Regions from separate parts of the Homo sapiens genome. Here regions 2 and 3 are each linked to region 1. Evidence: promoter capture Hi-C in 16 types of primary human blood cells and fetal thymus (Javierre and others, 2016). All regions are on one chromosome and are shown on one strand. The core of a region is centred on a gene start or on the middle of the fragment in contact, and the rest is flanking DNA. Distances in the headings are between cores, read along the strand shown. Region 1 holds the start of PLBD1-AS2 (PLBD1 antisense RNA 2). Region 2 holds the start of LINC01489 (long intergenic non-protein coding RNA 1489). Region 3 has its middle 140 kb from the start of ATF7IP.

The links. The method cuts DNA at HindIII sites, captures the fragments that hold promoters and counts their contacts. A CHiCAGO score of 5 or more calls a contact.
Region 2: a contact is called between a fragment that was not itself captured here and the fragment with the promoter of PLBD1-AS2 in region 1, in 1 of 17 cell types (neutrophils). The highest score is 6.0, in neutrophils.
Region 3: a fragment that was not itself captured here is called in contact with the fragment with the promoter of PLBD1-AS2 in region 1 in 1 of 17 cell types (monocytes); the score reaches 5.4 in monocytes.

Annotation. Positions count from the first base shown.
Region 1 is chr12:14,528,263-14,531,720 of GRCh38, reverse strand. PLBD1-AS2 (PLBD1 antisense RNA 2) reads right to left here and starts at 1,582. Exons shown (of 5, transcript NR_187784.1): 1 at 1,480-1,582; 2 at 511-679. The region is part of intron 6 of PLBD1 (phospholipase B domain containing 1); the gene reads left to right. The HindIII fragment of the contact is 11,029 bases long and covers 1-2,417 here.
Region 2 is chr12:15,001,045-15,004,502 of GRCh38, reverse strand. LINC01489 (long intergenic non-protein coding RNA 1489) reads right to left here and starts at 2,670. Exons shown (of 4, transcript NR_120466.1): 1 at 2,597-2,670; 2 at 1,468-1,568. The HindIII fragment of the contact is 3,304 bases long and covers 260-3,458 here.
Region 3 is chr12:14,228,631-14,232,088 of GRCh38, reverse strand. No RefSeq gene overlaps it. Among named protein-coding and RNA genes, the nearest start is that of ATF7IP, 140 kb to the left of the region's middle. The HindIII fragment of the contact is 266 bases long and covers 1,690-1,955 here.

The DNA of each region.
Region 1 (3,458 bases), core at 333-2,832:
AAGCAGAGGTTGCAGGGAGCCGAGATAGCACCACTGCACTTCAGCTTGGGGGACAGAGTGAGGCCTCGTCTCAAGAACAACAACAAAGAGATTACATTCTAGGGAGGCAGCAATTAGCCTGAAGAGTCCAACAGAAAACATGTCGATCTATGTTTACACTGTAAAATTCCCAGTGTAGCTTTAGTAACCATAAAACAAATTATCATTCACAATTTTTTTAACACTCTGGGTAAGGCTTGCATTTGTGGTCATCATTAACAAAGCATAATAAGGATTTTTGAGTCATTAGAAGCCAGGATTCACAGGTAGAGTGGTAGATGTCGCAAAGTCATTAAGAAAATGGTGTTAGGGAACTGCAGAGGCAAGGAGATCTGTGTTGTTTCAAAACAAACAGGTTCCAAAAAGTCATGGTTTTGTAATAACAGTATTGCTACCTTTTTCTCATAACAAAAAATAGGAAATTAGCCAAGAACAATGCATTTAATAATAAAGAATACAAAGAGATGGTACCTGGATACTGTAACAAATCTTCACGTGCACTGATTGGACAATAGACAAAACAGATTGCCTTTCTCTGCCCATCATCCTAAATCTTCAATGATAAATCATCATATCTCACATGTACTGATGAATTTTTAAATATATGTTTTTAATCAAATTGTTTATATAGGCAGGGGCCCTGTTAAAAAAGACAAACAAACAACAACAAAACAACAACAACAACAAAAAACACTTGCCTGAGGCACTGGATACCCAAAGGAAAGTGGCTTTGAATGGCCTTGTTCTAGGAGTTTCTGTCCCTAACAAGAAGGGTTTTGAATACATGGTCTGTTTGCCTAGTAACAGCTAAGGCTGAGTAAGGAATGGAGAAGCCTTGCACTAGCCCTCCCCACACATTTACTTATTTTGGCAATGCAAATTAATAATCAAGGAGGTAAGACAAAGAGATAAATCACTAGAAAATGACGGCACTGAAATGGCAGCCAATACAATTGTGTGAAGACCTCAGCACAAAGATCTGATAGTTTTAACCAATCCAGAGAAAATTTACTTGTCAACAACATTGAGTCTTCCAATCTACTAATATAATCTATTTGTTTATTTCAGTCTTTAATTTGAGTCATATCATGTAGTTTTCAGTATTTAGGTCTTACATACCTTTAAGTAAGTTAAATCCTAAGTAATGTTTGATGCTACTGTAATCAAAATGTTTTTTATTCTTTTTTCAGTTGTTTGTTGCTCATATGTATTTATTGGTTACCCATTGCCACATAACAAATTGCTCCAAACATTAGTGGCTAAAAACAATAATGATTTAGTTACTCATGGTTTCTGTGGATCAGGAATTTAGATAGGGCACAGTGGGGATAATTTGTCTCTACTGTGACTGGGGCCTCAGCTGGAAGACTCAATGACTGAGGGGCTAAAATCTCTGATAGCTTAACTGAGACTGGAACATGCACTTCCAAAACGACTTACTAACATAGCTGACAGGGTGGTGCTGGCAACTGGTTCCTCTTCACTTGGGCCTCTCCTCAGAACTGCTTGAATGTCCTTCATGGCAAGACCCCTGGCTCCAGACGAAGCCATCCAAAAGAACAAGGCAGAAATAGTAATGCCTATTGTGACCTCACCTCAGACGTCACACACGCTCACTTCCACCAGGTTCTATTAATTAGAAGCAAGGTGTTATGACCAGCCCACATTCAAGGAAAGGCGATTAGAATCCACCTTTTAAAGAGAAGGGTGCCAAAGAATTTGTGGAAATTTGAAAACTACCACAATGTATTACGATTTTTTTGTACATTATTATCCTGAGATCTTTCTAATAGCTTTTTTGTAGATTCCTTGGGATTTTCTATATATACAATCATGACATCTCTAAATAAAGACAGTTTGACTTCTTCCATCCCTTGTATGTCTTTGATTGTTTTTTTGTATGATTGTGCTGGAGAAGACCTCCAGAATAATGGAGACCATAAGTGGTGAGCATGCAAATCCTTGCCCAATTCCTGACCTAGGGTGAAAAGTATTGTCTTTCACCATTAAGTATGATGTTAACTGCAGATTTTTTGTAGATGCCCTTTATAATGTTAAGGAAGGTCCCTGCTCTTCCTACTTTCTTTAATATTTTTATCAATAAATGAGTGTTGCATTTTTCTGAATTCTTTCTCAGCAATTGTTGAAAAGATCATATGAATTTTTTCCTTTATTAATATGATAAGTTACATTGATTGATTTTCAGATGTTAAACCACTTGAAATTCCTGGGTTAATCCTCAGTCATGATGTGTTATTCTCTGTATTTATTTTTAGTTCAGTTTACTAACGTGTTAATGATTTTTTTCATTTACATTCATGAGACATATTTGTTTGTAGTCTGCTTTTCTTATGATGGTTTTTGTTTTAGGATAAGCTTATCCTCATATCCTAAATGTGGAATTATTTCTTTCTCCTAAGTGTTTTAAGAGCATGTATATGATTAGTGTTATTTTATTCTATTTATTTATTTATTTATTTATTTTTAAAGACAGGGTCTCACTCTGTCCCCCAGGCTGGAGTACAGTGGTGTGAACATAGCTCACTGCAGCCTCAAACACCTAGGCTCAAGTGATCCTCCTGCCTTGGTTTCCCAAAATGCTGAGATTACAGGTGTGAGCCACTGTGCCCAGCCCATTTTCTTCTTTAAGTGTTTAATAGAATTCACGCGTGAAGCTAGATATGAAGGTTTTTATTTGTTGAAAAGTTATTAATTGTAAATTTAATTTCTTTCACTGCTACAGAACTATTTCAGTTTTCTAACTCTTCTTGAGTTAGTTTTAAAAATGTATCTTTCAAGGAATTTATCCCTTCTTTCTAAGTTATTGTTTTTATTGATATGAAGCTATTTATAATGTTTTTCTTAACCTCTTAATGTCTGTAGGATCTGTAAAGTCCCCATTATCATTCATGATATTGTCCATTTTTCTTCTTTATTAAGATAAAATTTCCATTTTTATATTTATTTTCTTTCTTCTACTTACTTTGCATTTAATTTGTAATTTTTTCTAGCTTCTTAATGTAGAAGACTAGATAACTGATTTTGATCTTTCTATCATAAGCAAATAAAATGATAAATTTTCCAATAAGCACTACTTTTGGTGCATCTGACAAATTTTGGTATATTTTGTGTTCATTTTTATTCCATTTAGAATATTTTCTAATTTATCACGATTTATTTAATCCATAGCTTATTTGGAAGTGTATTGTTTAATTTCCAAAAATTTACAGATTTTTCAGATCTTTGTCACTGTTTTCCAATTTAATTGCATTTTCTAATTTATTCTGAGATCAGAGAGCATATTCTGTATGATTTCAAATTTTTTTAACTTTATTGAGACCTGTGTTATGGCTCAGCATGAGTCTATCTCAATGAATGTTTCATATGCAGTAGAAAATAATGTAAATTCTAGTACTTCT
Region 2 (3,458 bases), core at 662-3,161, 470 kb before region 1:
AGATATGTGAGGTCATCAAGATGGTACCACCGGCCCTGGAGTGAACAAACAGGGGACACCAGGGCACCAGGCATGTGCTCTGCAAGCCATCACTCTGAGACAAGTTTTGAGTGATGGTGAGAAAACAGTGGATGTGAGGGGCAGACAGATGTTAGTGTTTAGGGGACAGGCTTTGGGCCTTGAATAGACTTTGATTGGAGGCACGGCTCTACTACCCGTTAGTCTACTTAATTACATTGAACAGTTAACTCCCTAAGCTTCAATTTCTCTTATTTATAAATTAGACTCTTTATGTTAGCTATTTTAGGTAACACTGTGATAAGAATTGCACATTGTTCACAAACATATAAATATTCTATCCATGTTTGCCAAATAAAGTACCCCCAAATTACATAATTTTAGAAATACAGTAAAGAAAGCCCTGTCTTCCACTGGAAAGCTACATACAGAGGAAATGTGAAACCTAAAGTTTCAAAGACTGAAGTGACATGAAAATTAAATAAAGGAGGAACTTTTGAATGATCAATAGCTTCAGAGCTGAACCTCTAAAGGACTTCTTTAAGAATCAATACTGATACCATAACATTGATCCAAAAAGATAAGAAACGGCATCCTATCTTTTTATGAAAATGGAAAAGTCATATAAATTTAAAAGAAGCTGTGAGAACCGTGGGAGATTAGACACAGTAAAAGACACAAATCGTATTTGTCCCTCATTAATGTAAAGCAGGGGAATTGCCCTGCAGGTTTCCATGTGAGAATATGTTATGCTTTATGGTGGAAGGAGGGTAAAAAAGTCAAAACAACCAGACTTTACCCCTAGATTTAACTAAGGACTAGCTCGACCACATTCTAGTTGTGGGGCATTTAATTATGAGCTCAAGACTGGTGATCAGTGCTCTTATTATAATACCTACTCCACAAGTGTGTGAAGAATCAAGTGCCTAGCATCCTGTCTTGCGCCTCGGAGGCACTCAATAGACAGGAGTTTAAGTCATTGCTGAGAGGAAGATAAATGAACTTATGACTTCTCTGCAGGTCAAGCAACTCACTATACCGATGGCTTCAACCTTCCCACTGCATCATTTCTTCATGTTTTGCAGATCATGAGAAAATGCTGTCATTAGCCAAGTCAGATTGTCTTCTGAACCTTAGGTCAACAACTCTGCCACAGAAAGCCTGCTATGGGCATAATTGTGAAATTAAAGAGAATTTCTGCAATCTCAGATGGCACTTTCTGTCCTCCTTCTGGTCCCACCCCAGGTGTTCTTAATGAACAATCAGCTGTCGGAAAGCTGCCCTAATTCTGCCCCACAGGAAAGAACAACTTCTTAAAGTGTGGTTCTCAAACTCCATGTGTCAGCATCCCCTCAGACGCCACAGGGACAAGCGAGTGGGCTGTCGAGATTGGAACATCCTGAAAACTGCTCAAAATATTCCACATGAAAAAACAAAGAAGTATTTTACCTGTGCGGGGATAGGATTGCAGACCCACAGGAAGTTTTTCTCCACTCTATTATCACAGAAAGGGATGCTCTGAGAATTCATGAACGATTGGGGTTTCTGTTCTGCATTTTTAAAAAGAGGGAGTTTGAAAGTAAGAGAACATTAATCCGATGGAAATGTGTTAAAAATTGATAAGTAAGACTGGAGCATTTGTATTTTGTGTAAATCTCTATTTGTTTTATGTGTTTAAATACCCACCAACAGAAAAACATTTTTAAATTAAAAGAAACCCCACTATCATTTTAAATTAAATTAAAAGAAGTCCTGCAAGTTTGTGAATTGTTAAGAGCTTTGAAATATAGAATTTGCAGAAACACACATAGCTGTAGGATAAAGAACATGATCCATCAGAGTCCGGGTCAGGAAACTAGAAAGCATATTATAACAGATGGAATGTATTATAAATTAATTATAATCAGTTATAAGGAATTGGCTAAGCTAAATAGAGAAGGTAGAATAAAGGGAAGAAATTGCGGTTCCGTCCCAGGTGTTCCTAATGAGCAATCAGCTGTCTGAAAGCTGCCCTAATCAGAGAAGATGCCCGGCAGAGCCATTGTCAGACTCGGACCAGATCTCTGAGGAGAGGGCACTGCCTGGCTGCTATGGGTAACTTTGCAGAAAAAGTGTAGAAAGAAGGTGGAGACTAGAACCAGACCAATTGCTGCTGCCAAGAGAGGGCGGTTGTTGCTGGCGGATGCCGCTGCCAGGAACAGGGACTTCTCCTTCCCTCCCTCCCTTTCTAGCCTTCCAGCAAGCATCCAGTGCCTCCCTCTCAGAGAAGCCTCACAGGCAGCCAAAACTCTATTTCCTATCATCCCAGCCCCAGTGCCATAAAGCTGAGTAAGGAAAGGTGGGTTTGAAGTAGAGAGACAATAGCTTCATAAACCAGCACACTGTCTTCTTAGGAAACCCTTCAAGTAAACTGAAGTAGATTAAAAAAAAAAATCACAGCAGATGCTTCAGCTGGTAACTGCAGTTTGCAAACAAAGAACCGCACTGCTGTAACCCGAGTGGGGAAGCCTCTGCTTATGCCATAGTGATCTTTGCAACTATCCATGCACACAAATAATTTTCTCATGTATTTACTCACCCAGGAAGTATTTACTGAGTTCCTTCTATTTCTAGGCATTTCCTAGGAAGTGGAGTGGGTATAACAGTGAACAACACAGGCAAATTCCCTGTCCTTGTGGAGGTGATGTTGTAACAGGATAGGCAGACAACAAGCATGCTAAAAATAGCCGGTAGTGCTAAGTGTAAAAAGACTGAAGATATGTGGGAACAAAGGGGTATCCAATCCACTTCCTTTTCCTAATGCAACAAACACATAACATTTTAATAAAAACAACTGATTATGCTAGCTCACATGGGCTAATATTTTACATTAACTTTCTTTCATAAGCCATCATTTCATCTGTCGGTGGTTCATACTAAGCAGCCTGGCTCACATCATATCTCTTAAAACAATAAGACCCAGAACCCTAAGATTCACCACTTCTGGTGAGAGCCAAAGTACATATACATGAGCTCCAGCCCTGCACACTGAGGTGGATGAGCTTCAGGACATTCTCTTTAAGACTGTTCTTGTGTCCCAGACATAGCATGTAGGGGTCTGAAATAATCCTCAAAGAGCTTTAATGATGAACTTTGCAAGAGAAGATATTTGGGAGAAGTAGAAAACCAGAGGACATGTTTCAGAGACTGGTCCTTCTTTTCAAACTTCAGGGGAAAATCACCTACTTGTATCTTAGCGTATAGTTGGTTGCCTGAATGAAATAATTTCAAATGATGGTTATTCTAATTCTGTCATATTTTTTACTTTAGGCAAAATAAATATTACAAATGTCTTGACTCCAATTTGTTTTGCTTCTTCAAGGCACCATAACTACTGAAATATTGAGGATATAAATCAAACCTGTTGTGTACATATTTCTTGTGGTGACCTATGTTAGAAA
Region 3 (3,458 bases), core at 573-3,072, 300 kb after region 1:
ACTGATGTGTAAAGAATGCCTGGATGTCAGGCACCTCAGACCATTTGCCCATTTTATGACAAAAATTATCTAGATCTTGTAGGATGGACAAATCAAAAGTGCCATTCTCTGGCCACTTGGAACTATTGTCGAGTTTGTATTGGGGCCAAGCGGTATTACAGAAGAAAATAAGACGTTTAGGTTTTAGGTCAGATGTTAGTCGAAGGGGTTTTAGGTTTTTAAGAACACAGGCTAAGGGGGAAGAGGGAGGAATGGATGGTAGAAGGTTGCCCATAGTGGAGAAGGTAAGTTTAAAGAGGAAGGTAGAGACACGGAGAAATGGAGGTGGGCAGATACCAGGCTTCCAGTATGCGTCCCTGACTGAGTCCTGGGCTGTAATGTGGGTGAGCAGCCAAAGCAGGTGTCCCTGCAATTGACCTGCCACCAAGGGAGTGTGGGTGAATGATGAAGGCAGGCGTCCCCGCTATGATCAAACACCAAGGGAAGACTGTCTTCCCAAATCTGTGACGGACATTGGAGTTTTTGAGTTCACAGATAAAATGTGTCTCCTTTGTCTCTACTAGAAAGGAAAAGAACTGGAATTGGAAGGATAGGGAGACTGAAGGGTAGCAAGAGAGGCTGGAGAAGAGAGTGAAGAGACCGCTTCCTGATTTGAAATTGGTGAGATGTTCCTTGGGCTGATCTGATGACACCTCCAAAGGAACACAATGATTCTCTAGTAACAGACTTGAAGAAAAGGAAATCAATGAAATGCCTGAAAAGAAATTCAAAATAATGATCTTAAGGTAACTCAGTGAGATACAAAAGAATACAGATAGACAATTTAACAAAATTAGGAGAGAAATTCACGATCTGAATGAGAAATTCAACAAATAAATAGATATCAAAAAAAGAAACCAAACAGAAAATTTGGAGCTGAAGAATTTAACAAATAAAAAATATGGTTGAGAGCTTCAACAATAGAGTAGATCAAGCAGAAGAAAGAATTTCTGAAACTCTTTTGAAAGAATTCAAAAAGACTTTTGAAATAACCCAGTCAGACCACCAAAAATAAAAAGTTAAAAAGAAAAATCTGGGCACATGGGCTCATGCCTGTAATTTTAGTTACTTGAGAGGCTGATGTGGGAGAATTGCTTGAGCCTAGGAATTTGAGACCAGCATGGGCAGCAAAGTCAGACCCCATCTCTGGGGGAAAAAGATTAGCCAGGTGTGGTTGCATGCATCTGCAGTCCCAGCTACTTGCGAGGCTAAGGTGGAAGGATCATTGTGCCCAGGAGTTTGAGGCTGCAGTAAACTATAATCATACACTGCACTCCAGCCTGGGTAGCAGAGACTCTGTCTTTAAAACAAAGAAAAGAATGAAGAAAGCAGCCTAAGGGACTTGTGAGGCATGATTAAGTGAACATATATTTACACTATGGATGTTTAAGGAGAAATGGGAAAAGATATAGAAAAACCCATTTAATGAAATAACAGCTGAAAACTCCCCAAATCTTAGGAGAGATATAGATGTTAAATCCAGGAAGCTCAAAGTTTCCCAAATAGATTCAACCCAAAAAGGTCCCCTTCAAGTCACATTATAGTAAAACTGTCAAAAAGACAAATAATTCTAAAAACAGCAAGACAAAAGTGTTATTGCACACAAGGAAATCCCCATTAGAGAAACAGCAGATTCCTTGGCAGAAAGCTTACAAGCCAGGAGAGAATAGGATGACATATTCAAAGTGGTGAAAGAACAAAACTGCCAGCAAAGAATACTATACCCACCAAAGTTATCCTTCAGAATGAAGGAGAAATAAAGACTTTCCCAGGTGTATTTGGCCGTTCTTGCATTGCTACAAAGAAGTACCTGAGATTGGGTAATTTATAAAAGGAGAGGTTTTATGGGCTAATGGTTCTACAGGCTGTACAGGAAGCATAGTGGCATCTTGCTTCTGGGGAGGCCTCAGGAAGCTTCCAATCATGGCAGAAAGCAAAGAAGGAGCAGGCACATTACAAGGAGAAAGCAGGAGCAAGAGAAGGTGGGGAAGTGCCATATACTTTTAAGGGGCCAGATCTCATGAGAACTTACTGCTGGCTGGGTGTGGTGGCTCATGCCTGTAATCCCAGCACTTTGGGAAGCTGAGGTGGGTGGATCACAAGGTCAGGAGATCGAGACCATCCTGGCTAACACGGTGAAACCCCATCTCTACTAAAAAAATACAAAAAAAAAAATTAGCTGGGTGTGGTGGCAGGCCCCTGTAGTCCCAGCTACTTGGGAGGCTGAGGCAGGAGAATGGCGTGAACCCAGGAGGCGGAGCTTGCAGTGAGCCAAGATCACGCCACTGCACTCCAGCCTGGGCGACTGAGCAAGACATCGTCTCAAAAAAAAAAAAAAAAAAAAAGAGAACTCACTACTGAGGACAACACCAAGGGGATAGTGATAAACTATTCATGATAAATTTGCCTTTATGATCCAGTCACCTTTCACCAGGCCCCACCTCTAACATGGGATTACAAGTCAACATGAGATTTGGGCAGGGACACACATTTAAACTACATCACCAGACAAGCAAAAGCTGAAGGAATTGATTATCACTAGACTAGCCTTATAAGAAATGCTTAAGAAAGTCCTACGTTTGGAGGAAAAGGATGATTACTGCCATCATGAAATCACGTGAAAGTATAAAACTCACAGGTAGAACAGTTATCCAAATGAGAAAGAGAAAGGAATCAAACCTCATCACTACAGAAAACCACCAAATCACAAAGATAAACAATAAGAGAGGAAGAAAGGAAGAAAAGAAATCTAAAACAACCAGAAAACAATTAACAAAATGTCAGGAGTTTTTTTCTTACTTATCAATAATCTTGAACGAAAAACAAAATCTTGAATGTAAACATTAAATCCCCAATTAGAAAGATATAGGCTGGCTGAATAGATAAAAAAATATCAAGACTCAACTATATACTGCTTACAAGAAACTCACTTCACCTACAAAGACACACATAGACTGAAAGTGAAGGGATGAAAAAAGATATTCCATGCAAGCAGAAACCAAAAATAAACAAGAGCAGCTATGCTTGTATCAGACTTAAACAGACTTCAAGTCAAAAGCTATAAAAAGATACAGAGAAGGTAATTATATAATAATAAAGGGATCAATTCAGTGAGAGGATATAACAATTCTAAATAAATATGTACTCAACACTGGAGCACTCAGATATATAAAGCAAATATCATTAGATTTAGGGGGAGAGATAGATATCAATACAATAATAGTTGAGGACTTAAATGCCCCACTGTCAGCATTGGGCAGATTATCTAGACAGATAATCAACAAAGAAACACCGGATTTAAACTGCACCATAGACCAAATGGACCTAACAGACATTTACAGAATATTTTATTTAATAGTTGCAGAATAACTCATTTTTCTCATCAGCACATGGAACATGCCATATGTTAGGCTACGAAG